5 separate regions of the Homo sapiens genome follow, and regions 2, 3, 4 and 5 are each linked to region 1. The links are contacts of gene promoters, found by promoter capture Hi-C in blood cells and fetal thymus (Javierre and others, 2016). All regions are on one chromosome and are shown on one strand. Each heading gives the region's core, a stretch centred on a gene start or on the middle of the fragment in contact. The rest is flanking DNA. Distances are from core to core; before and after follow the strand shown. Region 1 holds the start of MSMO1 (methylsterol monooxygenase 1). Region 2 overlaps SAP30-DT (SAP30 divergent transcript). Region 3 has its middle 7.6 kb from the start of HMGB2. Region 4 overlaps C4orf46 (chromosome 4 open reading frame 46). Region 5 holds the start of RAPGEF2 (Rap guanine nucleotide exchange factor 2).

Region 1 (4,641 bases), core at 615-3,114:
TTGAAATACCGCCTTTCCTTGGTTCTTGGAACTTAAATGCATTCACTCTGACAAGTATTGTGCATTCATTGTGCTAGCTGGTGCCCTTACCCCTGAGTTCATAAAACATAAAATTTAGTGAGGAATAACAACTAGTGTCCAAACCATCAAAAATTATGTGATAAGAACAATAAAGGGGGGAATACACAGTGCTATGAACTTCTAGAGAAAGGTGCTATCTAAACTGAGACCTAGAACAGGAGAAGGAGGTGACAAATTAAAAAATAGAGTGAGGGAGAGAGGGTCAAGGGAGGGGTTTTGCATAGAGAGAACAGCAACTCCAAAGACTCAACCAGGAGATTAGAAAAAATATGAGAATTGAAGCTGGAAAGTTTCCCAATAATGCCTTCCTTACTCCCTTCTAACGATTCCAGATTGTCTTGGGTGATCTTAACTATTTTCTGTTTTAAAAATATGCTGACATCCATCATCTCTATCTCTAGCCCTCTCCCCTAAACTCCAGGATCTAATTATCCAAGTTTACTGGTCATATCCAGTCAGAGAGTTCAGAGGCACATGAACTCACTCAACAGGTCCAAAGGTTCAGTATGTGCTCCTCACAACCCCCGCCCAAATACTAGGCCTCCTTTAATGCCTAATTCTCAGACATAACGTTTTAAGTCTCTCCCATTCTGCTGCCTTAAGTCTTCAAACTCTTACCCAATTTAGAAACACTTGGTTTAGTTAACATTCAGGAATTTACTTTTCACAAAGGAGCGAGGGAATGGATATACTGTTGCTAACCGAACAAGGAATTAAAGAGGAGAGGGGAAACAAGGTCTTGGAAAATTGAATTTCCTTTTCCTTTACTCATTCTTGGGCAACCTAAATGACTGGAAGCCTGTTCTGGAACAGGTTGACTAGATAAATTTAGTTATTTGTGGATTCTCAGAAACCTTGAAGTTTAGCTGTCAGCCAGTCTCTGTCCTTTGGCACTTTAACACGGATTTCACCAGCTCCTTCATTTTCTGGACTTGCCCTGCCTCCAAGCTTGCCCTTCCTAAACCTTATTTCTAAGATGCAATGCCACGATCTATATAAATTTAAACATCAGAGATAACCTCCTTAAAACACTCAAAGTTCAAGGGAGTGCTTGCCCTAAGCATAAAGATCAAGCCCCGCTGTGATTGATGCACACGAGGCCCTTCCAGACTTCTTCACTCTTCATTTCTTACATTCTCGCCATCCTACACTTCACATTTTTGCAGTATCTGATCACTCATGGTTGCTACTGCTTCATTCCTCTCTGCCCACGGAAATATCGTTCCCTTACAGGTGATGTCCTCCCATTCAACTCCTAGTCATCCTTCAGTAACCTCCTCTCGGACGCCCTTCCCAACCCCACTACTCCCAAAGCACACTACATCTTACCTCCTTCTAGTGGTTCCTGCTTTTGTATAACTTTCGCCAGCCTATCACCCTGTGCTGCAACTATCTTCTACGTCCTGTCTCCCGAAGACAACACATTTTAAAGGGCAAGAAACATGCCCTAGCCTAGTTCCATCACTTAAGAATTTCACTCCGTTTTCATCCTTTCTAGCACGTACCTTAGCCTAGGCCCACCTTCACTCCAGTCTCCTTCCGCCCCGTCTCGGGTACCACTGCCAGCGTCCCGCCCAGCGCGTGCATCCGCACCCAGAACCCGCTCCCCTCGATCTCACGGAGCACCGGGTGGGAGCCCGCCTGCTCCCCCTTCCTCGCTCATGAGCCACTCCTCCAACCCCCTCACCTGAACGGCCGCGAGATGACTGCCGGCCACCGACACCGAGGACTCGCCAGGTGTTCCAACCTCGGAACCTGCCTCGCCTGGCTTGGGGGTGGAGCCGGGTGGGCCAGGCGGCCCGTCCTGTCGTTATTGGCCTGCGAGAGCTCCCGCCCCGCCTTCTCGGCGCGGTGATTGGTCTGTGCAGTTGCCGACATCGTGTGACTCGCGCGAACGAGCTCCTGGCGGTCCCAGCCATTGGCTCCGCGGATGGAGTGAGGATAGTGAGACCTGCAGAGCCAGCCAATGGTCGGCACCGCGGAGCGCCCGGAGGCGGGGAAGCGTGAGAGCGCGCCACGGCGTGAGGGGGCGGGCACAGACGGATGGCCGCCTCGCCCTGCAGCGCGGAGTCGCCTTGGCAACTGCGGTCCCGGCAGATTCCCAGTGAGAGCCTGCGCTGTGCGGGGGAGAGTGTCGCGCCGGCCGCCGTCCCAGGACTTTTATTTCAAATGTGACCTGTGTAGCAACCGCAGTTCCCAAACCCGGGAAGAAGAGAGTATAGATGAGTCTTAAAATCTATGTTGACTGTTTTGTGTTTCCAGACACCCTTGCCTTCCTTTTTCTGGTCTACCATTTAGATTTAGATCTTTCGTCTCCCTTGTTTCCCCAGCCTACGTATCCTTTAATAAATTCCTGCATTTTGAAAACGGAGAATTTCAAATGCGATTATCGTCATTTTGCAGATGAGAAATAAAGGCTGGGAAAGATTTAAAAAGATTGAACATCAAGGGAGAGTTCGGCTCCCAGGACCTTGACCTCGCTACATGGGCAGAGAACGCCCAGGTGTTGTTGCAATTGTTGTGCTGGACGATGAGTGCCCGGGGGCGGGGGCGGGGGCGGGGGCTTGACGCAGGTCTTTGCAGCTCTAAAGCTCAGTTTACACCATCTCTCAACATTAAAATATTGTGTACTGGGGTTTAATAATAAAACTGTACAGATGTGATAATATACTAAAACTTTCACTTAACGGAAGAGGTGCCTTTAAAGAAAAAACCGCACAGGGGCATCATTTGGGCTAGTGAAGGCCCTTTTTCCTCCTTCTTTATTAAGGTATAATTGACAAAAATTGTGTTTACGGCGTACACATGTTTTGATTATGTGTATATTGTGTCAAATATATACAGCTTCTGAAAACAGAATACTATTGTTTCATTCCTCCATGCTTTTGCTCAAACTGGCCCTTCTGCCTGGAATAATCAGCCATCTCCATGCCGCCCCATCAATTCAGGTACTATCTCCTTGAGGAAGTTCCCTCTTGAAAAGTGTCTTTTTTAGATTCAGTGTGACCTGTACTTATTCGTCTATCCCTCATGTTTGGCACACACATTCTTTGTAAAGTATCATGACAGCGGTCACGTCAAATGAAAAGAAATGGGATCTGTCCCTTGGTTGTCAGAGTCAGCCCTGTCTTTAGGATGCCTTTACAGTGGTGTCTGAAACCATGCCTATATACTTTATGAAGTTAATCTGGGAAAAAGGGGTGGGGGGAACGAAATTAAACCAAGCTTGCAGCACACTGAGGATTAATAATTAGGTCAGCTTGCTGTCTGACCCCTTCCTCATAATTGTTTGCCTATTGCTTCAGAATCATGTAGACTCTGTTACAAGGTTATAGTTTCCCCTAACTGCTCTATAGACAACAACTTGAACATTATGAAACGTTAAGTTTGTGCTTTGAGATAACCTTTCAGGTCCTTCGTACTGATGAAACTACTGACTCAGCTGGTCTGACAAGGAGCTGACTCACCAAAGAATGCAGTTCCCACATCCTGATGGTTTCATTCCTCCTTACCCCAGCCAATCGAGGACCCTAATTTTCCAGCCCATTGCCCTCCAGGATCCCCTTAAAAGCCCCAGCACAGAACTCCTCAGAGAGATGAATTTGAGGGTTTCCTCCCATCTCCTCTCGGCACCCTGCCATCACTAAACTCTTTCTCTTCTGCAAACCCTGCTGTCTCAGTGTATACTGTGCAGTGGGCATATGAATCTGTTGGTCCTGTAGTGGATGCTGTGGCACACCACCCAGATCCCCCTCTTCAAGACCTAAGCAGGCATTCCTCCAGCTGCTGAGTACTGCCAAAGAGAAGCACCTCTCCCCACGGGTATACCCCCTTTCTAGGCAACAGCTAGTCAAGTAACTGGTTGAAACGGGTATAAAATCCCCTAAACCAATGTAGGGCTACTTTGCTTGGCCATCCCAGCTCCAGAGCTCCCCATCCTATTGGTTGTGTGATGACTGCACTGCCACCCAACTTTTCTCTCTGCCCAAACCTGCCATCCTCTATCAGGTGAGCATCAATAGCACACACTATCGGGCCACACTTACTAGGCTTGGCATTTTATTAGCAGTGGATAAGTTACTTCTCTGTCTTATCTGGTACTTCTGTGAAATAATAATACCTACACCTCGAAGAGTTATTTATGATGATTACATGAGATAACGTATGTAAAGCCCTTTGCACAGTCTCTGGCATACAAGATATGATCAGTAAATGTCAGCAATTATTTCTGATTTGGAATTCTACCACAGTATTACATTTTCTAAATCAGAGCAGGTGTAGGTGTATGGAGGGGTCAGATTATTTTAAACCTTAAAGGCTTAGAGCTGGAAAAAAATGCTGATGCAGCAGCTCAACTCACTTATTTCCCTACAATGAAGATTAACAGGGGGCTCAGGGAACAATAGCTGTAATTTATTGAGGGCCCGCTGGATTTCAAGCATATTAACATGCATCATTTCTTTCAAACGCAACAACCTTGTGACACAGACACTCCTATTGCCATTTTAAAAACAAAATAAGGATTAGAGGTTAAGTAATGTGTTGAAAGTCACAGCTAGC
Region 2 (4,641 bases), core at 938-3,437, 8.0 Mb before region 1:
TCAACCAATCCTCCCATTTCAGCTTCCCAATAGGTGGTAGGATTTCTAGTTATCTTGATTTGTTGAGTCTTTTATGAAATATTCTTTTTGTTTTTAGTAGTATTATCGAAACAAATTTGACTTTGTCTGCTATTAGAGAAGTCATATCAGCTGTCTCTGGTTAGTGTTTTTATGATAAACTTTTTTCCATCCTTTTTCTTTCACCTCTGTGCCATTTTTATGGCATATCTCTTTAAACAGCATATGATTGGGTTTTTGATTTTGTAACCAGTCTGACAATCTTGGTCTTGGTATACTTACTCAATATATTCGAAGTTAAAACTACCACATTACATTTATTTTATATTTGTTCTATTTGTCCTATTTCATTTTCTTCTTTCCCACTTTAACAAATTATTTTTATCTTTCAATGCCCCCCTCCAGTAGCTTGTTATTATAGTTTTTAAAATTAAACTTTTACTCTTAATTGCATATTGTCATACAGTTGTAAGAAGCATTACAGAGAGACACTGTGTCTTTACCCCATTTTCTCCAATGACAATATTTTGCAAAACTGTAGTACAGTATCATAACCAGGAATTGACATTGATACAGTCAAGATACAGAACATTTCCATCACCACAAGGATCCCTCAAATTGCCCTTTTATTGCCTCACCCACTCCCTCCCGTCCCCACTGCCTTCTGAACACCTGGCAACCACTAAGCTGTTCTTTATTTCTATAATTTTGTCATTTCAAGACAAAATATACAAAAAGGCATGGGCTTATATAGTATGTAACCTTTGGAATTTTTTTTCTTTTTTGAGACGGAGTCTCGCTCTGTCGCCAGGCTCGAGTGCAGTGGTGCGATCTCAGGTCACTGCAGTCTCCACCTCCCGTGTTGAAGCAATTATCCTGCCTCAGCCTCCAGAGTAGCTGGGACTACAGATGTGCACCACCACACCCAGCTAATTTTTGTATTTTTAGTAGAGATGGGGTCTCACCATGTTGGCCAGGATGGTCTTGATCTCCTGACCTCATGATTTGCCCGCCTCAGCCTCCCAAAGTGTTGGGTTACAGGCATAAGCCACTGTGCCTGGCCTGGAATTTTTTTTTCCCCCACTCAATGTAACTCCCTGAAGATTCATCCAGGCTGTTGCATGTATCAGTAATTTGTTCCTTTTTATTGCTGAGTAGTATGGTATGGATTTAGAACAGTTTGTTTAGCCATTCACCCAGTGAAGGACATCTGGGTTGTTTCTAGTTTGGGGATATTATGAATAAAGCTGCTATAAACATTAATGTATAGGTTTTTGTGAAAATGTAAGTCTGTATTTTTCTTTCTTTTTTTCTCCCTACTTACCTTTGGAGAAAGTCCTTCATTTTTCTGAGGTAAATTTCCAAGAGTACAATTGCTGGGCTGTGGGGCAGTTTCATGTTTAGGTTTTTAAGAAATTGCAAACTATTTTCCACAGTGGCTGTATCATTCTACATTCCCAGCAGCAATGCATGAGTGATCCAGCTTCTCTGCATCCTTGCCAGTATTTGGTGTTGTCACTATTTTTATTTTATCCAATCTGATAGGTGTATGGTGATATGGCATTGTGTTTTAATTTGCATTTTCCTAATTGCTAATGATGTTGAATATCTCATTTGCTTATGTGCCATCTGTAAACCATCTATGGTAAGTTTTTGTTCATGTCTTTTTTTTATTTTCTAATTGGACTTTTATTGAGTTTTGAGAGTTCTTTATATATTACAGATATTAGTTCCTTGTCAGATATGTGGTTTGCAAGTATTTTCTTCTAGTCTGTAATTTGCCTTTTACTACTCCTAATGCTTTTCACAGAGGAAAATGTATTAGTTTAGATAAAGTTCAGTTTTTCCTTACATAGATCATGCTATTGCCGTATGTTAAGTCTAAGAACTCTTTCTTTATGCTTGTATCCCAAAGATTTTCTCCTATGTTTTGTCTAAAAGTCTTGTAGTTTTACATTTTACATTTAAGACTATTATCTATTTTGAGTTAATTTTTGTGTAAGGTGTGAGACTTAGGTTTAGTTTATACACTTCTTTATTACAATAACTGTCTTTTATCAGTTGTAGATAAATCTTGGCTATTATATCTTCAAATATACCTTTCCCCTATTTTCTCTCTTTACTTTCTATGACTGGAGTTACATGAATGTAAGAAATCACACTGTTGCATTTATTTCTGATGGTCTTTTTTGTAGTTTGCACTTTCCCATTTCTCTGTGCTTCTGTTTTCTACTTATCTACCTTCCTTTTCTTATACCAGCAGCTCTGTTTACCTTTTTAAAAAATAATGCTCACTCTTCCTTTTATTCATACTGTCTTTCTAGGATTATTTTCCTTCTTCCTGAAGTACATAATTTAGTAGTCCCTTTAGGGCTAGTATGTTGATAGTCTCTCAATTTTCCTTAAAATTTTTATTTGCCCACATAGCTTTTCTGAGACAAGGTCTTGCTCTATTGCTCAGGCTGGAGTGCAGTGGGATGAGATCGTAGCTCACTGCAGCCTCAATCTCCTGGGCTCAAATGACCCTTCTGCCTCAGTGTCATGAGTAGATGAGACTACAGGTGCCTTCCATCATGCCCAGCTGACATTTGTATTTTTTGTAGAGATGAGTGCCCCATTATGTTTCCCAGGCTGGTCTTGAACCCCTGGCCTCAAGCAGTCCTCCCACCTCAGCCTCCCAGATTGCTGGGATTACAGACCTGAGCCACCACACCTGGCCTGCTCATAGTCTTGCAGTTCAAGAATGGCAGTTATTTTCTCTCAGCACTTTATATTATAGGTATTTTTCCACTGTTTTCCAGCTTCCACTGTTGCTGCTGAGAAGTCTGCCATCAGTATAACTGTTTTCCTTTGTAGGTGAGCTTTCTTTTCTCTCTTGCTTCTTTTAAAATTATTTTTTGGGCTGGGCATTGTGGCTCTTTTAAAATTATTTTTTGGGCTGGGCATGGTGGCTCACACCTGCAATCCCAGCACTTTGGGAGGCCTAAGCGGGCAGATCACCTGAGGTCAGGAGTTTGAGACCAGCCTGGCCAACATGGTGAAACCCCATCTCTACTAAAAATACAAAAATTAGTTGGGTGTGGTGGTGCACACCTGTAACCCCAGCTACTCTGGAGGCTGAGGCACAAGAAATCACTTGAGCTCAGGAGGGAGAGGTTGCAGTGAGCCAAGATGGTGCCACTGCATTACCGTCTGGGCGACAGAGCAAGACTTTTTCTCAAGAAAAAAAACATATATATATATATATATATATATATATATATACATACACACATATATATTTGACATCTGCAAGTTCACCTTGAAGTTATTGTGGATTTCTTTTTATTAAGCTACTTGGGTTACTTTATGCTTCCTAAATTTGAATTCATATCATTCACTGTGAAAAAAATGCATCAAAAATACTAAAATAGTGCCACTTTGTGCTTTTCTCTATTTCCTTTTTCTAGGACTAATTAAACATATTGCAATATTGATAAACATTATTCTATTTCCAATGTTTCTGTTTTATTTTTAAAATATTGTTCATCTCATTCTTCTGTGATTCAGTCTAATTTCTTCAGCAAAATATGTTAATTTTATTTTTAGCTTTATCTCATCTGTGTAGCTCATTCATTAAAATTTCAACAACTATGTTTTTTTCTTTCTCAAAGATCCATTTGGTTGTTTTCAGAACTTTTTTGTCATTCCTGATAGATACCTGTTGCTTCCTCATCTTTCTAATTTCATCCTTTTTCTTATTAAAAATGTTTGTATTCTGAATCTAACAATTGTAAATATCTGAATTCCTTGGGTGTTCAATGGTGGCTTGCTTCTTCACGTGCCTGGTCATCTCTAATTTTGTACTTATATTTATTCCATCAATCTGTGATATTTCTAAAGTAAGATGCTTTCCCTCAGTAAGGATTTCCATCTGTTTCTGCCAAGAGACAAAGTATGCTACCATTTTAGTTTCTTTAAGGAGTCCCAGCTTAATGTAGTATCCAGTTTGGTTTCCTTTCCTTTTTGTGGGCCTATAGGTAAAGATTACAATTCAAACTTCTGCTTTGGGCATTTGTTTTCATGGCTAATTTGCTTCCCAGGTTTACTTACCACTCAAATTACCATGCCTGAGTCTAGCTGATGATTGGTATCCCTACCAATCCTCATCCTCCGCCCCCACCCTCTGACTTATTTTGGTGTCAAGGAAAATTCCTTAGATATTTTTCCCATTTTCTGTCATCCTAGGAATGCAGTAAAAATCTATTTAGAACTAATTTTGAGGGGATCATAAAAATATCTGAGTATCTAGGTCACCAAAGTGATGAAAGCTGCAATCATACATCACTCTGTTACATGGAAAGACAGAAAAAAAGAAAAAAGGCCAGCTTGGAATCTGAAGACTGCTTTCAAATAAAATCACTGCCTTTCATTAATTCGTTCATTCATTCTGATTCAAACTTACAGGGATTTATGTACCAAATGCTTTATTAAGGGAGAAGAAAAGGAGCATGTCTCTACCCTCTGGAGGTCTAGGCAAGGTTACAGATACTAAACTAATAGGCTAACAAATATATATATAATTACAGATAGTGATGAATGTTATAACCGGTGATAAAAGAGGAAGTTGGATAGTAACTTTAT
Region 3 (4,641 bases), core at 1,505-4,004, 8.0 Mb before region 1:
AGTGGCACATCTCGGCTCACTGCAAGCTCCGCCTCCCGGGTTCACGCCATTCTCCTGCTACAGCCTCCCAAGTATCTGGGACTACAGGCGCCCACCACCAAGCCTGGCTAATTTTTTCTATTTTTAGTTAGAGAACACTTGCTGGGTATGGTGGCTCACGCCTATAATCCCAGCACTTTGGGAGTGTGAGGTGGGAGGCTCACTTGAGCCCAGGAGTTTGAGACTAGTCTAGTCAACATAGACCTTGTTTCTACCAAAAATACAAAAATTAGCCGGGCATGGTGGTGCATGCCTGTGGTCCTGGCTATTTAGGAGGCTGAGGTGGATCACTTGAGCCTGGGATGTCTAGGCTATAATGAGCTGTGATCATGCCATCGCACTCCAGCCTGGGCAACAGACCAAGACTTGGTCTGAAAAAAACGAAACCATTTGATGTCACATGTGAAAAAAGACCTACAAGTGAAGTAGGTGGGCCAAAAGACATGCACATTTAAAAATGTGCTAACTATACTAGCTAAAACCTGTGCTTAATATATGCCAGAAACTGCTCTGGTGCTGTTAATGGAGCCTGCTAAACAAAACTGCTTCTCAACAATAGAAGTTGTACTACGCTATGGAGTGGACACTCCATAGCAATGAAATGTTTTGGAGTGCCTGTTTCCTCATCTCAGCAACATAATAGTTCTCAAACTTCTTAGTCTTTGTTATTCTGATATAGATAAAATGTTTTCTATTATGAGTTTCATTTTTTTTTTATGTTTAACAGCCATTTGTGGGGCTGAGTGCAGTGGCTCATGCCTGTAATCCCAGCACTTTAGGAGGCCGAAGCAGGCGGATCACTTGAGGTCAGGAGTTCAAAACCAGCCTGGCCAACATGGTGAAACCCTGTCTCTACTAAAAATACAAAAACATTAGCCGGGTGTGGTGATGGGCACCTGTAATCCCAGCCACTTGGGAGGCTGAGGCAGGAGAATCGCTTGAACCCGGGAGGCAGAGGTTTGCAGTGAGTAGAGATCACGCCACTACACTCCAGCCTGGGTGACAAGAGCAAGACTCTGTCTCAAAAAAAAAAAAAAAAAAAAAAAAGCCATTTGTATTCTTTCCTGTGGTCTTTTCTCACTGGTCTTTTTATTAATAGTTTTTGGGAATACTATATATTAAGGAAAATGACCCTTTTGACTTTATGATGCTTTTTTCATGCAGAGATTTCTTTATGTAGGCAAATTTAGCAATTCTTTCACTAAAACTTTTCTAGTGAGGTCCTTCCCACTCAAAGATCATAAAAGACTATAAAAATAATTATCCTTTGGTTTCTTTTTTTAAATTTTTGATTACATCTTTGATCCTTCTGGAATTAATTTTGGTGCAAGGACTGAGGTAGGGGCTCACGTTTCCTTCCCGATGTCAGCCACTACTTTTGGTCTTTTAATCTATAAAAGCAGGGCACTGGGTTAGAATTTCCTAAATTCTCTTATATATCAAACAAAGCACTCACTGCAAACTTGATCAATAGAGGAAAGTATGCTTTTTTTGTATTTTACCTTTTACCAGTTTCACTTACTGTAAATCATAAGGTTGTCTTACATAGTAGAAAAATAGCATTATCTTAAACCTGGCTTTTTATTACTAAATATATCACTAAAAATGCTTTACAAAGCAGTAATGATTTTATTTCTTGGGGAATAAAATCAAGAAAGCTAAAGGAGCTGCTATGCCACTGTGTAAGATCTAGTCCTTTAAAAATGAAATTTCATACCTCACCATGTTTGGATTAGTTCTTCATGAGATTCCTGTTGGAGACTGACAGTTTTAGAGAAAGGCAGAGTATTTATTGACATTAGGAAATGCCAAGACCTATAGAGACTAGCCAGGGAAAAGGACTGGATGTGGTGAAGTGAAGAACATTTTGAAAGTAAGCTCTGTGAGGGCAGTAAAATTTTCACTTTTGTATACTGCTTTGTCTCTAATGCAAGAAACAGTGTTCTAAGCATGTTTGTAAATATACAAATACCCAGGTTAAAGGGGATAGCCACTGTTTAGCTCAGTCCTGTTGCTAGATGGAAATGTGAATATAGGATTCCCAGATCTCTCAAATTTTCAAGTGGAACTAGAACTCGTGAATTCTGAATTTTAAATACAGTATTGGCAATGAATTCCAATTTTGGGGTCAAAACATGTCTATAGGTAAGATTCTGCCCAAAGGTCACCAGTTTGCCACTTCTATAAATTAAATAGTAAATATAAGTGTAATAATTTTTACTTGAGTCAGGTCCAAGGTTAATAAAAGTTTATATATGCCTTACAGCTAACCATTGTTTTTATAGGTCAGAAACCCTTCTTGCCCTGATTGGAAACTCAACTTACCCTGCAGCAAAGGTAAATAAAAATGTTTCAATTGAACTTCATTGTGCTCCTGGGCCTTTATTCTTCAAGAGTTAACAGTGCAGACTTCTGGTGATCCTCATCCTAGGTGTTACCACATCTATAGAATAGTAACTCAGGAGTGCAATAGACTGTCGCATTAAAAGGAAAGAAAAATAACTTTTCAGCATTATGTAGCACTAAATTTTGGAACTGGAAATGGCCTTTATATCATCTAGTCTTTCATTAGAAAAGCAGGACAATCAACTTGGACATTGTCCTCGGGCAGATAAGAGATAGTAAAATACCATAATCCATTCATATTTGTGTAATTCTTTGATTCTCCAAATTTTTTCCAAAAAATATTAATGGCTTATACAAAGAAAAACAAGAACAAAATATACAAAGAAAAAAACAAGGTTATGAAAGAAATTAAAAGCAAGGTAGTGAATCACGGATTTGAATAGGGCTCTGTTTTTCTTACTGGTTTTGTAACATCAGACAACTCATGTAACATTTCGGTTTCCTCATCTGTAAAATTTGAATGTTTTTGAGGATTAAGTAAAGTAATACATTTAAGACACTTATCCTGGTGGCAAGAAATAGTAAATGCTCGATAAATATTAGCTAAAAGTATATATGCCGATATACATGGGTTAATACAGATACTACGATGGAGTATTAGATAAAGTTCTAGCTCACTGCAGCCTTCACCTTCCAGACTCAAGCGATTCTTCTGCCTCAGCCTCTCAAGCAGCTGGGACCACAGATGTGTGCCACCACACATGGCTATGTTGCCCAGGCAGGTCTTAAACTCCTGGACTCAAGCAGTCCTCTCCCCTTGGCCTCCCAAAGTGCTGCGATTACAGGTGTGAGCCACTGTTCCAGCCCTGAGGTTCTTGATAGTCTAGGTAGAGAGGAAAATTAAAGAAGTTATGTGGAAAACATACATTCTTTAGGAGAGTTTTTCCTGGCACCAAATAAATATTCATCCCACAGAGTTAGAGGGATATTGAGTACTGGACTTGATTATGTCCTTGACCCCAGTACTAAATTTGTGAACTTGGACAAGTTATTTAACCTATCATGTATAAATGTATTAACATACTGTATGTTTACTTTTAGTCACTTTTGAGATTGATAAAAAGTGCTGAATAAAGTGTTTTGGGAAGTGCCTTTTTCATTCAATCCTGTACACCTAAAACTTGTTTATAACAACTAGTTTATTCATATTCATCTCTGTAATATTCCATTGTGTGATTATATCACAATTCATCCTTTCTCCTGTCAATGGGCATTTAGGTTGCTTCCAGGGTTTTCGCTATTGCAAATGGCTGTGGTATAAAAATTCCTGTATAGCTCTCCTGACACTCAAGCGTACTTCCCCTCCAATAACCTGGATTGTAGATTCTAGCTGTTTCAGCAGCCGGAAACCTCCACTCCGCCTCCTCAGTTCAGCAATACCACCATTCTGAGCCGCATTCCTTGCACCATGGTTGGGAATGTCCTCCCATGGAGACAGACATGGTGAACCTGGGATTCACCTTGTGTATTTCCTTTCTTTTAGATATCAGTCTGCTTTGACTAGTATCCAATTCCTGAAAACAGTTGCTTCATATATTTTGTCCAGCATTAACTGTTGTTTGGGGTAGCAAGATAAGTCCACTTAAAATTATAGCCGGAAGTGGAAGTCTATTCATCCCTATTTTCTATTCAAATATTTAGTTTTGTTTCGGTTAGTTAATTCTTAATACAGCTGTGGTTTATTTGCTCAAACCAAAAGCCCAAGAGAAATTTCATTTAAAGGTAATTTGAAGGATACAATATCTTAGATATTCTTCAAGATGCACTTATCACATCACAGTTTCATAATGCTCAACACTTCTTAAAGTGCTTTCACATGGAATAATTTTCACGTACCTAAACTATTGGCCTATTAGGTATCTGGCTTTCTGGTGAGGTACTTGTCATGTTTTCCATTGAATTATATATGGATTTTTTTCCCAATTATGTCCAGAAATGAAATATATTCCAAGATCCCTATGAGAAACTTAAGAAATAAAGAAACTCCCATTTATTCTAGTCTGGTGCTGTCACTTTTTCAAATTTCTTAGCCTACTTCTACAGCAGCTAAGAATTGGGAGATATGACAATAGACAGGTCAGTTGAGAGAAAGTTTCCCAAATCAATACAGCCACTTACTTGAATCTGTTAGCAACCGTATCTTCTCTTGAGATGTGTTTTGTACAAGGTGCTATGGACTATTTCTAATTTCATTGT
Region 4 (4,641 bases), core at 979-3,478, 6.7 Mb after region 1:
AAATGCACGTTTCCTTAAAACGTGGCGGGACCTCTTGAAAGAAGGCTATGATTCTTTGAAACCTGATGACTGATTTGGCATACTTCGTTGTTTAATAATGACTGCAATAATTCATACTTCTTATGTCATATTTTGTACATGTACCACACATATAGGATGACCTCTGTCCAGCAGTTCTGTATATACTCAGAATGAAATTTTTCTTGGTTTTCTTGGTTTTTGTGAAAGCAGAATACCGATGCTATTTTTGTTGCGGACCAGTACTTGTTTGTCCTTAAATACTTTATGCCTCTGAACTTTCATAGAATCCTTTATGAAAGTTAACTTCATCAATAGACGGTTAATATTAATAGAGCCACAGTGCTACCAGTAGCAAACTAGGTAGACCATTATTTGTTTTGCAACAAGATGCTAAGCATGGCAGACTTTGAAGTTGCGTTTCATCTTAAGGACCAAGGGAGGTAACTTTAAGGTTGCCAGTGGTGGATCCAGCTCCGTTAGGCTAAGTTGTCTACAGCTAATGATTGTGTCTTTATTCTATATCCCCAGCACCTAAAACAGGGTCACACAACATTCACTAAATGTTTGTTGAATAAAAGAGTTAACAAACATAATTGAAAGCTTTTTTTCTTCCTATATTTAGCATGAAGACTGTCATTGTTTCTCTAGGAAATGTATGAATCTGAACTTTTTTGACTTGAAGAAAAACATTCTTTTTTTACAGAGATTTGGACTTTGATGATAGGTTTTAAAAATATATGATAAATATTTTTTGTACTTGTTTGATTTTTTTTTTAAAGACTTTACTTCAGAAAGGGAAAGACTGTTTAGAAAGAATGCATATTTTTTCCCTATTTATTTCTGTGGTTACTGCTTTTGCAGTTTAACAGTGTTTGTATTTGATATTTGTATATGTTTGATTGCTATCTTTAAAGTGCCTTATCAGATTTATGGCTCTGTGCTATTACTTTTTGAGCTTTGCAAGTTGTGTACATAATAATTCTAAAGAAGTTACTTTGTTTGCAATGCATCAAATTTAAATGATGTGATTTTTTTTGTATTATTTGATCTTAGTGACAGTGTTCTATTTTGCATCCTGTATCTTATGTTGCTTTTGGTGTTTTGTGTTGTGTGTCAACGATTAAGCCAACTAATTCTCTACCATATATAACTTCTGGACATTTTTGATACAACATCTTAATTCTTTGTAGATATGGAGATAGGTACAGAACTATATTCTAATGCCCCACAATGGGGCTATGAGAGGGGACAGATGGATGGGCAAAGAATAGTTTTGTTTAACATATTAGGTCATAGTTCTTGATTAGTTTTTTTAGTTAAAGATAAACACATAGGGTGTGATTTCTATACCAAAGATATGCTTATTTCAGTATTAGAAAAATATTCTTCTTACATCTCCTGAAAATTGCAATTTTTAAAATGTGTAAAAATAAATTATTATTAAAAGCACATTTTATTTCCATTTGTTTGGATTCATTACCTTAAAACTTTATTGACATATTTCAAAGATATAGGAAAGGTAAATGATTTCAAGAAAATCCGTGTATTTCTACCATGCAGATGTAATAAATGTTAGCATTTGGCTATATTTTCTTCAGACACACATATGCATGTAATTGCAAATGTTAGATACATTTGAAGTTTGCTTTGTTACCTGTTTGATCCTGTCCCGTTCCTCCCTCCCCAGAGTCCCCAGAGGTAACCACTAGAGGGGGCATAATATAGCATGTGTTTTTATATTTTTAATACAAATATATTTTTTAAAAGCGCTACAAAATATTGTTTTATATATGTGGTAGCCAGCTTCCAGATGGCCCCAGTGATCCCTGGCCTCCTGGTGTTCATGCCCCAGTATAGCCTTCTCCTGCATTTTACAGTGCTGACTTTTGTAACTACCAGGATATTGAGCAAATGCAGTGTGTGATTTCTGAGGCCATATCTTTTACTCTTTTTTTTTTTTTTAAGAGACAAGATCTCACTCTATTGCTCAGGCTGGAGTGTGGTGGCAGGATCATAGCTCACTGTAACCTTAAACTTGGACTCAAACAATCCTCCCATCTCGCCTCCTCCTATAAAGCACTGGGATTACAGGCATTTTTGCTCATTTTTCTATGTTGTTTTTTTTACTTGTCAGTTTTTAGATATTACATATTTTGAATACTAATGATCTGTTATGTATGTTCCAATTATCTTTTTTAGTCTGGTTTGTCTTCATATTTTGGTTATGAAATCTTGAATTTTTAAAAACGTAATTTTACCAATCTTTCATAATGATTTGCTTTTTCTGGTTTTTGTATAGGAAATGTCATAAAAATAGTCCTATTCAGCCTTCCAAAAGTTACAAAATTTTTGTTTTTAACATTTAGATGTTTAGTCCAACTGAAATTTGTTTTCTTTTATGGCATGATTTTGGAATCTTGTTTTAATTATTTTTACATATTTATAGCTGTTCCTCCAAGTATCAATTTTTCAAGTGCAACATCTGTCATGCAGTTACTATGTAAGGGCCAGATTCTGACCTTTCTGTTCTTTTTATCTGAAGGAAATTTGAACATGCCACCCCCAAATATGCCGATTTGGCATACTGATTATTTCGAGCTAAAGGTGCTTGACTAACAGTAGTTGCAGAAATGGCTATTTTAACTGTCCTTTCCTACCTGTAGCAAGCCATACAAACTTCTTTGATAAAGATGCTTTCCTGATACCAAGATGAGAAGATGGCTCTAATCAGCTGAGACAGCACCAGAGGAATCTACAAACAAGAAACTATTAGTTTCTTAACATATATTTACCTTCCACAGTTTCTGCCTCTGGAAGCCTAAAACTGCTTTCCTTCGTCTTGTCACACTTCTCTGAAATGTATTCTTTGTGGAAGATGCTATATAGTCCAGAGTTGTAAGCCACTACTTGTGTTTACCTTTTCATTGAGTTTTCTCCTGTGTGATGTACGTTGCATATATTAATAAAATTACTTGTTTTTCTCTTGTTAATCTGTCTTTTGTTATAGGGATCTGTCCCAACTGTGAACTTATGAGGCTTGAGGAGAAATTGTATTTCCTCCACTACAGATTTATTTGCTTAACTCCATGCTAAAACTCAATTTGTCTTTCCCTGTAAGAAAAGAAAAAACATGTTACTGATTTCTAATTCTATTGAGTTATGTCAGCTTAGGACAACTGCTGGTGTCAGGTAGTGAGCTTTCTATGGGCACTTTAAGAGTTTACAAAGTGACCTTTTTACATTTCTGTTTGCTTTATGGGAGAGGTTGGGGAAGAGCTGAAAGCGTAAATATTTCCTCAAAGACTTAATAATTTTTTTTAAACGTAGTAAACGGTCCATTACCAGCCCTACAAAAACCCCAAAGGAATGATGTAAATTTTTTTTTGAGACAAATTCTTACTCTGATGCCCAGGCTGGAGTGCAGTGGTGTGATCTTGGCTCACTGCAACCTCTACTGCCCGGTTCAAGCGATTCTCCTGCCTCAGCCTCCCTCGCTGGGATTACAGGTGCACGCCACCACATCCGGCTGATTTTTGTATTTTTAGTAGAGATGGGGTTTCACCATGTTGGCCAGGCTGGTCTTGAACCCCTGACCTCAGGTGATTCTTCTGCCTTGGCCTCTCAAAGTGCTAGGATTACAGGCATGAGCCACTGTGCCGAGCTTATGTAAATTTTTTAGACTCGAGACTAAAGTCAGTAAGATGAAATTGTTAACATAAAAAAAAATGTGTTATGTTTCAAAAATTCTGAGTTTGAAAGATGTGCCAGGTACTATATTAAGAGCTTTATGATGGGGCACGGTGGCTCAAGCTTGTAATCCCTGTATGTCCGGAATTGGTGGTTCTTGGTCTCGCTGACTTCAAGAATGAAGCTGCGGACCCTCGCAGTGAGCGTTACAGTTCTTAAAGATGGTGTGTCCGGAGTTTGTTCATTCAGATGTTCAGATGTGTCCGGAGTTTCTTCCTTCTGGTGGGTTTGTGGTCTCGCTGACTTCAGGAGTGAAGCTGCAGACCTTCACGGTGAGTGTTACAGCTCTTAAAGGCGGCACGTCTGGAATTGTCCGTTCCTTCTGGTGGGCTCGTGGTCTCACTGGCTTCAGGAGTGAAGCTGCAGACCTTCGCGGTGAGTGTTAACAGCTCATAAAGGGGGCGCAGACCCAAAGAGTGACCAGCAGCAAGATTTACTGTGAAGAGCGAAACAACAAAGCTTCCACAGCATGGAAGGGGACCCTAGCAGATTGCCACTGCTGGCTCAGGTGGCCTGCTTTTATTCCTTTATCTGGCCCCACCCACATCCTACTGATTAGTCCATTTTACAGAGAGCTGATCGGTCCATTTTACAGAGAGCTGATTGGTCCGTTTTACAGAGAGCTGATTGGTCTGTTTTGACAGAGCGCTGATTGGTGAGTTTACAAACCTTTAGCTAGACACAGAGTGCTGACTGGTGCCTTTACAATCCTTTAACTAGACAGAAAAGTTCTCCAAGTCCCCACCTGACCCAGAAGCCTAGCCGGCTTCACCTCTTGATGGCACTTGCCGTGGGACTTCGTGGCACCTAGCCCAGGCACTCCAGCAGCCCAGAGGGAGCTCGTTCCTCGATCAAGCCCACCTGGAACCCACG
Region 5 (4,641 bases), core at 1,344-3,843, 6.2 Mb after region 1:
AAAGGCAGCGTGTGCAACACCAAGAGAAGAACAAGATCAATGCAGGACATTCCTTGTTGGGATAAAAATAGTCTTTTAGAATGGGAACTTTCTGGAGACAGATAAATTTTCTTGTAAAATTACAGCCATCTTCCACACGTTTGATAAATATGTGCAATCTATCCATGATCTCCCAGATGTGACAGCTCCATCAAGGAAAATGAAAAATCAAAAACGGTACCAGGTGCCACTCTTGGGGCTTGTCCAAAGGCAGCCAGGGGAAGAGTCTATTTTATTATGCTCTCCCCACAGTAAATAATAATCAACATCAGAGAAGGAGAGCATTTGGATTTGAACAGATGGCATCCAACATCTAACAAGCGAAGCAACACTTTCAAGCATTAGATCCTAAATGTCTGATGGTCCCAAGGATCAGGAGGGCTTATTTGTCTTAAGAGGGTTGGCAGGCAGGATCTCCTATAGTCACCATCCCAACGCTTAGGAATATGCGTCATTATCCAGTCAGCAACTAAAGGCGGAGAAAATTAAGCTACCACATTTTTATAAAATTTCCCCCTCTCCAGTAAAACTTGAGACAACCAAATCCAACCCTATCAGCCGCTATAAGTAAGAGAAGAGTAAGCCTGCAGGTAAACAAATGTATAAAGGTTAACAAACTTATCTAATTTTGACAAGGTTGTGCAACACCAAAAGAATCCGCAGGGTGCCCTTCCCGAGGGTGTACTGGAACATGCCTGCTCTGCAGCTATGTCTGCAATTTAAACTAAAAGCACTAACTTAGCTATTCAACTTTTTTTCCCTTCAATTGAAAGCAGTATCCTTTAAAAAATAAAAGCAAAACAGTAAACATACAAACACCTCAATGTTTTACTGAAGGTCAGCATGGATTTGTCTTTAGCACAACCGTACAGGTTTCCTCCTATACCTTTCAAACACCACTGAACTCCAAGGGTCACTTGCAAGGGGAGGAACGGATCTGGAGTCAGAGGGAGCAAGAGTCGCTGCCCGAGGGGAGATGAGACTCCATCCCCTGAGATTCAGAGGCCACGGAGGGCGGCTGGGGAGAGGGAAAGCTAGAGAATTCACACATTCACACACATACACACACACACACACACTCTCTCTCTCTCTCTCTCTGTCTCTCCCTCTCTCTCTCTCTCTCTCTCTCTCTCTCTCTCTCTCGGCTGGGCAACATAGTGGGAAAGGTCAGTCATGGGGAGGGAAGAGTTAAGGAGCAGAATGTCAAGGAGAGGGAAAAATAAAACCAGGATAGGCGGAGTAAAAGACTCGGAGGTGGGATGCCTTTGGAAGTTGGGGGTCCTGATGCAAGAAGTGGGGTGCTCGGGGCGAACTGTGTCAGGAAGGAGGTGGGGGGACAGGGGAAGACGCAGCCTGCGAGGCAGAAATCCGGCCAAGGGCAGGCGGCCGCCGCGTTCTCACCTGGGGGGTCCTTTCGGGGGGATTCTTCATCACCGCCTGGCGGAAGCTGTTATCTACGTAGGACGCCATCTCCCCTCTGGGAGCGGGCCGGGGCCGCTCCGCACCCTGGCCGGCCTCCTCCCGGCCCAGCGCCGCTGCTGCCTCCGCCCTGCGCGCTGCGCCCGCCCGCCCGCCCGCGACTAATCAGCCAAACCGCGGCGGCGGCGGCGCGGGGCCCGCGGGGGGGCGGCTCGGCTGGGCCCGGCGGCCGAGAGCGCGGTACAGGCGCGAGGGGCTGGACGCAGCCGGGAGGGTCGCGGCGCCCCTAGGCTGCCGTGCGATGCGGCCCGCAGGCGGAACTCCCCTTCCTCCTCCTCCTCCTCTTCCTCGCCGCTCCGCCGGCTTCCTCCGGCCCTGGCTCGACACGCCTCCCCGGCTCCACTCGGGGGACAGTGGCGGCTCCTCCTGGCCCCAGCGGGCCCGAGTTATTTTTAGGGAGGTACGAGTGGCAGTGGGGAGGGCTGTGGGCAGGCGGAGCCTCCTCCCCCACGGCGCTGAGGGTCGCCCCCTCCTCTCAGGGGCTTGCGCAGCCGCCGCCCAGGGGTCTCCGAGAATCACTTGGATCTTCCGCGTCCCCAGTCCTCGGGCGCCTCGGCCGCCGGTCGGGAGGACGGACCAGGTGGGTCTGGCTCAGGTCCGGGCGCTGCGAAGCCCGATCGCCTCGGCCGCCGCTCCTGGTCTCTGTCTACTGGGCTCGGCCGTCCCTCCCGACTGCTGCTGCATCCCCTCGGGCCGCCCAGCCGCCGCCGCCGCCGCCTCTGCTGCTCGGGCCGCCGCTGTGGGCTCCGCCGCCGCCGCCTCCCCCCATCAGCGCGCCCGGAGCGGAGCTGCCCCGGCGCCGGCGCCGCCGCGGCCAGAGCACCCGGCCCGGGCTGCAGCCCTCCGGCCCAGTCGCTCTCGGCAACTTTGTTCCTCGTCTGCGCGGGGCGGAGGAGGGGGAAGAGGGGGCCGCGGACAGCCCGGGTTCGGACTCCCGGCGCGGGCGTCCGAGGGCCGAAAGCCGAGAGCCGCGCACAGCCCCCTCGGAGAGAGTGTTTGGGAAGCGGCGATTCCCCTCCTCTTCCTCCGCCTCTTCCTCCTCCTGCGCCTTCTCCGGCCGCCGGAGCCGCTCCTCAGGGAGGAAGCGGCCTCTGGGGCTTGTTGCTTTGTGCTGCAACCATGGTGAGGAATGAGTGACAGCGTGGGGGCGAGTCGGCGGCCGCCGCATCATCGGGGGGCGGGGCAGCCCCGTCGCGCCGGGTCCCGCCTCCCCGCTCCCCGCCCGCCAGCGGCCGCGCCCTCGCGTCTGAGCGGCACCTTCGGCGGCGCCCAGGTGAGCAGCGCTCTGGCCGCAAGTGGGTCGCGGAGCCCTCGGCCGGGCTGTCGGGTCCCGCGCGCGGCCTGGACCCGAAGAGGGGGCGCAAGTCCTGGTGCCCCGGAGAGAAGCGCAGGGCTTTCCTCACGCAGTGTCCCCCACTGTCTCACGCCGCGCCCCCTCCCCACACCCGACGCGCCCTACTAGGAGACCCAGCCGCGTCGGGTCGCTGCTCCCCGCCCGCTCCTGGCGCCACGCCGCCGCCCAGGGGCTGAAAGCTAACCTTGGGCAAAAGACCGGCCCACCAGCCCGGGCTGTACTGGGCATTCTTTTTGAGCCCAAGAGTTGCGTCCGAGTTGCTTCTGTGGCGATAAATCCTCTTAGGATTTATTTTGCTTATTTGTAATTTGCTGCACCCTCCCCTGCTTTCCAAGCCCACTCTGGCACCTCAGACAGTAAAATGACCACGAAATTAGGCAGAGAGGTTTCAACACCAGACCCACTACCACCCCTAGACCAACAAACACTCCAGATTTAAAGTTGATCACTCCTTAGCGACAGACCAGGATGGCAAGTTCTGTGACATAATCAGAAACATTTATTGGTAGGTCTGGCTTTGCCTTGGACAGAACAAGCCTCCTCCTCTAGATGCTCAAATTTCCAAACCGGACCCACATGGTGCAGAAACAATACCTCGTCCTTCAAGATGTCACCGCTCCTGCTGATTCCCTCAGCTCCCCCCCACTCCTTGCCCCGGCCACGTAGAGGTGTGTTAAGGTCAGCCCAAGCATCGGGGACCACTCTGCTGTTCTGGTCCCAGGGATTTATTTTTGTTTGCCCCCACCCCCCACAAGTTCTTATTTTGATATCTATAGACACAATGAGTTTTATGTATGAGCTACTGCGTTGAACTTTTCAAACATGATTTTCAACATCTAGTTTAAACACTTGGAATAGATTGTCAGCTAACATTTTGGGGTTCCTTAAGTCACCTGTGTGCACTAAACAGCTTGTGTGACTTCCTAGCAAAGGGACTGTCCCTGCCCAACCTTGTGAAAGGGAATCTGAGTTACAAATTGTATCTGTAGACCTTTTTATATTACTCTTGCTGGAACTGCTTCTCTATATTTCTCTTTCACCTCTTAGTTGAGCGCCAACATCAAATTCTCTATGACATAGGCCACTACCTTGAAAGCAAAGGAACATGAATAAGTGCCAATACAGCTCTGAAAAAAGGAGAGAGGCAGATAAAAGAATTCAAACCCAATGAAGTGAAAAAATATAACTGACATCTCCACCTGGTGTCTAATAGACATCTCAGAATTCACATGTGCAAACCAGGCTCCAGATCTCCTGTCTCAGACACCCACAGCCTTCCCCATCCTCTGTTAATCACATCTACACCATTCTCACTTCCTGGGTGAAAACGTTGACTTCCTTGACTCCTTTCTTTCTGTTATACCTCAAAAGTGTCAGTAAAAATCGTCAGCTCAACCTCCAGAATGCCATATCTGAACTCTAACCTTTATCTACCACTTCTACTGCCATGACCCTGGTGCAATCCAGCATCATGTCTGGCCAGCACTTTGTCATAACCACCCACCTGGTCCCCCTCTTTCTAACCTTGCTTGCCATACAGTTCATTTCCAACACAGCAGCCAAAGTGTGAATTCTTTTCACTCCTTCTCAAATCATTCCTCTGCTTAGCTCCTCATACCACTCAAGGTAAAAGCCAAAGTCTTACCATGGCCTGAATATCCTATGGACCTTTATCTCTCTGACCTCTTCTACTATTCTGTTCCCAAGCACATTAGCCTCCATGTTGTTTCTGAAACAGCAAATTCCAGTCTCATGACCTTTCCATCTGC

Evidence for each region. The method cuts DNA at HindIII sites, captures the fragments that hold promoters and counts their contacts. A CHiCAGO score of 5 or more calls a contact.
Region 2: a fragment that was not itself captured here is called in contact with the fragment with the promoter of MSMO1 in region 1 in 1 of 17 cell types (naive CD8 T cells); the score reaches 5.4 in naive CD8 T cells.
Region 3: a fragment that was not itself captured here is called in contact with the fragment with the promoter of MSMO1 in region 1 in 1 of 17 cell types (total CD4 T cells); the score reaches 7.5 in total CD4 T cells.
Region 4: a fragment that was not itself captured here is called in contact with the fragment with the promoter of MSMO1 in region 1 in 1 of 17 cell types (total CD4 T cells); the score reaches 5.1 in total CD4 T cells.
Region 5: the fragment with the promoter of RAPGEF2 here is called in contact with the fragment with the promoter of MSMO1 in region 1 in 4 of 17 cell types (non-activated CD4 T cells, total CD4 T cells, fetal thymus and 1 more); the score reaches 11.0 in non-activated CD4 T cells.

The regions. Positions count from the first base shown.
Region 1 is chr4:165,324,892-165,329,532 of GRCh38, reverse strand. It overlaps MSMO1 (methylsterol monooxygenase 1), which reads right to left and starts at 1,864. Exons shown (of 6, transcript NM_006745.5): 1 at 1,769-1,864. RefSeq lists an enhancer at 1,566-1,835 and a silencer at 1,926-2,265. The HindIII fragment of the contact is 2,277 bases long and covers 1,032-3,308 here.
Region 2 is chr4:173,345,871-173,350,511 of GRCh38, reverse strand. It overlaps SAP30-DT (SAP30 divergent transcript), which reads left to right. Exons shown (of 4, transcript NR_183973.1): 4 at 1-1,281. Among named protein-coding and RNA genes, the nearest start is that of HMGB2, 14 kb to the right of the region's middle. The HindIII fragment of the contact is 4,926 bases long and covers 1-4,641 here.
Region 3 is chr4:173,324,404-173,329,044 of GRCh38, reverse strand. No RefSeq gene overlaps it. Among named protein-coding and RNA genes, the nearest start is that of HMGB2, 7.6 kb to the left of the region's middle. The HindIII fragment of the contact is 5,987 bases long and covers 1-4,641 here.
Region 4 is chr4:158,665,045-158,669,685 of GRCh38, reverse strand. It overlaps C4orf46 (chromosome 4 open reading frame 46), which reads left to right. Exons shown (of 2, transcript NM_001008393.4): 2 at 1-3,011. The coding sequence ends at 73. Among named protein-coding and RNA genes, the nearest start is that of C4orf46, 4.5 kb to the left of the region's middle. The HindIII fragment of the contact is 3,210 bases long and covers 624-3,833 here.
Region 5 is chr4:159,101,031-159,105,671 of GRCh38, reverse strand. It overlaps RAPGEF2 (Rap guanine nucleotide exchange factor 2), which reads right to left and starts at 2,593. Exons shown (of 30, transcript NM_001394067.2): 1 at 1,441-2,593. The coding sequence starts at 1,509. RefSeq lists silencers at 1,454-1,873, 1,841-2,135, 1,884-2,173, 2,214-2,433, 2,564-3,103 and an enhancer at 2,752-3,443. The HindIII fragment of the contact is 5,553 bases long and covers 1-4,641 here.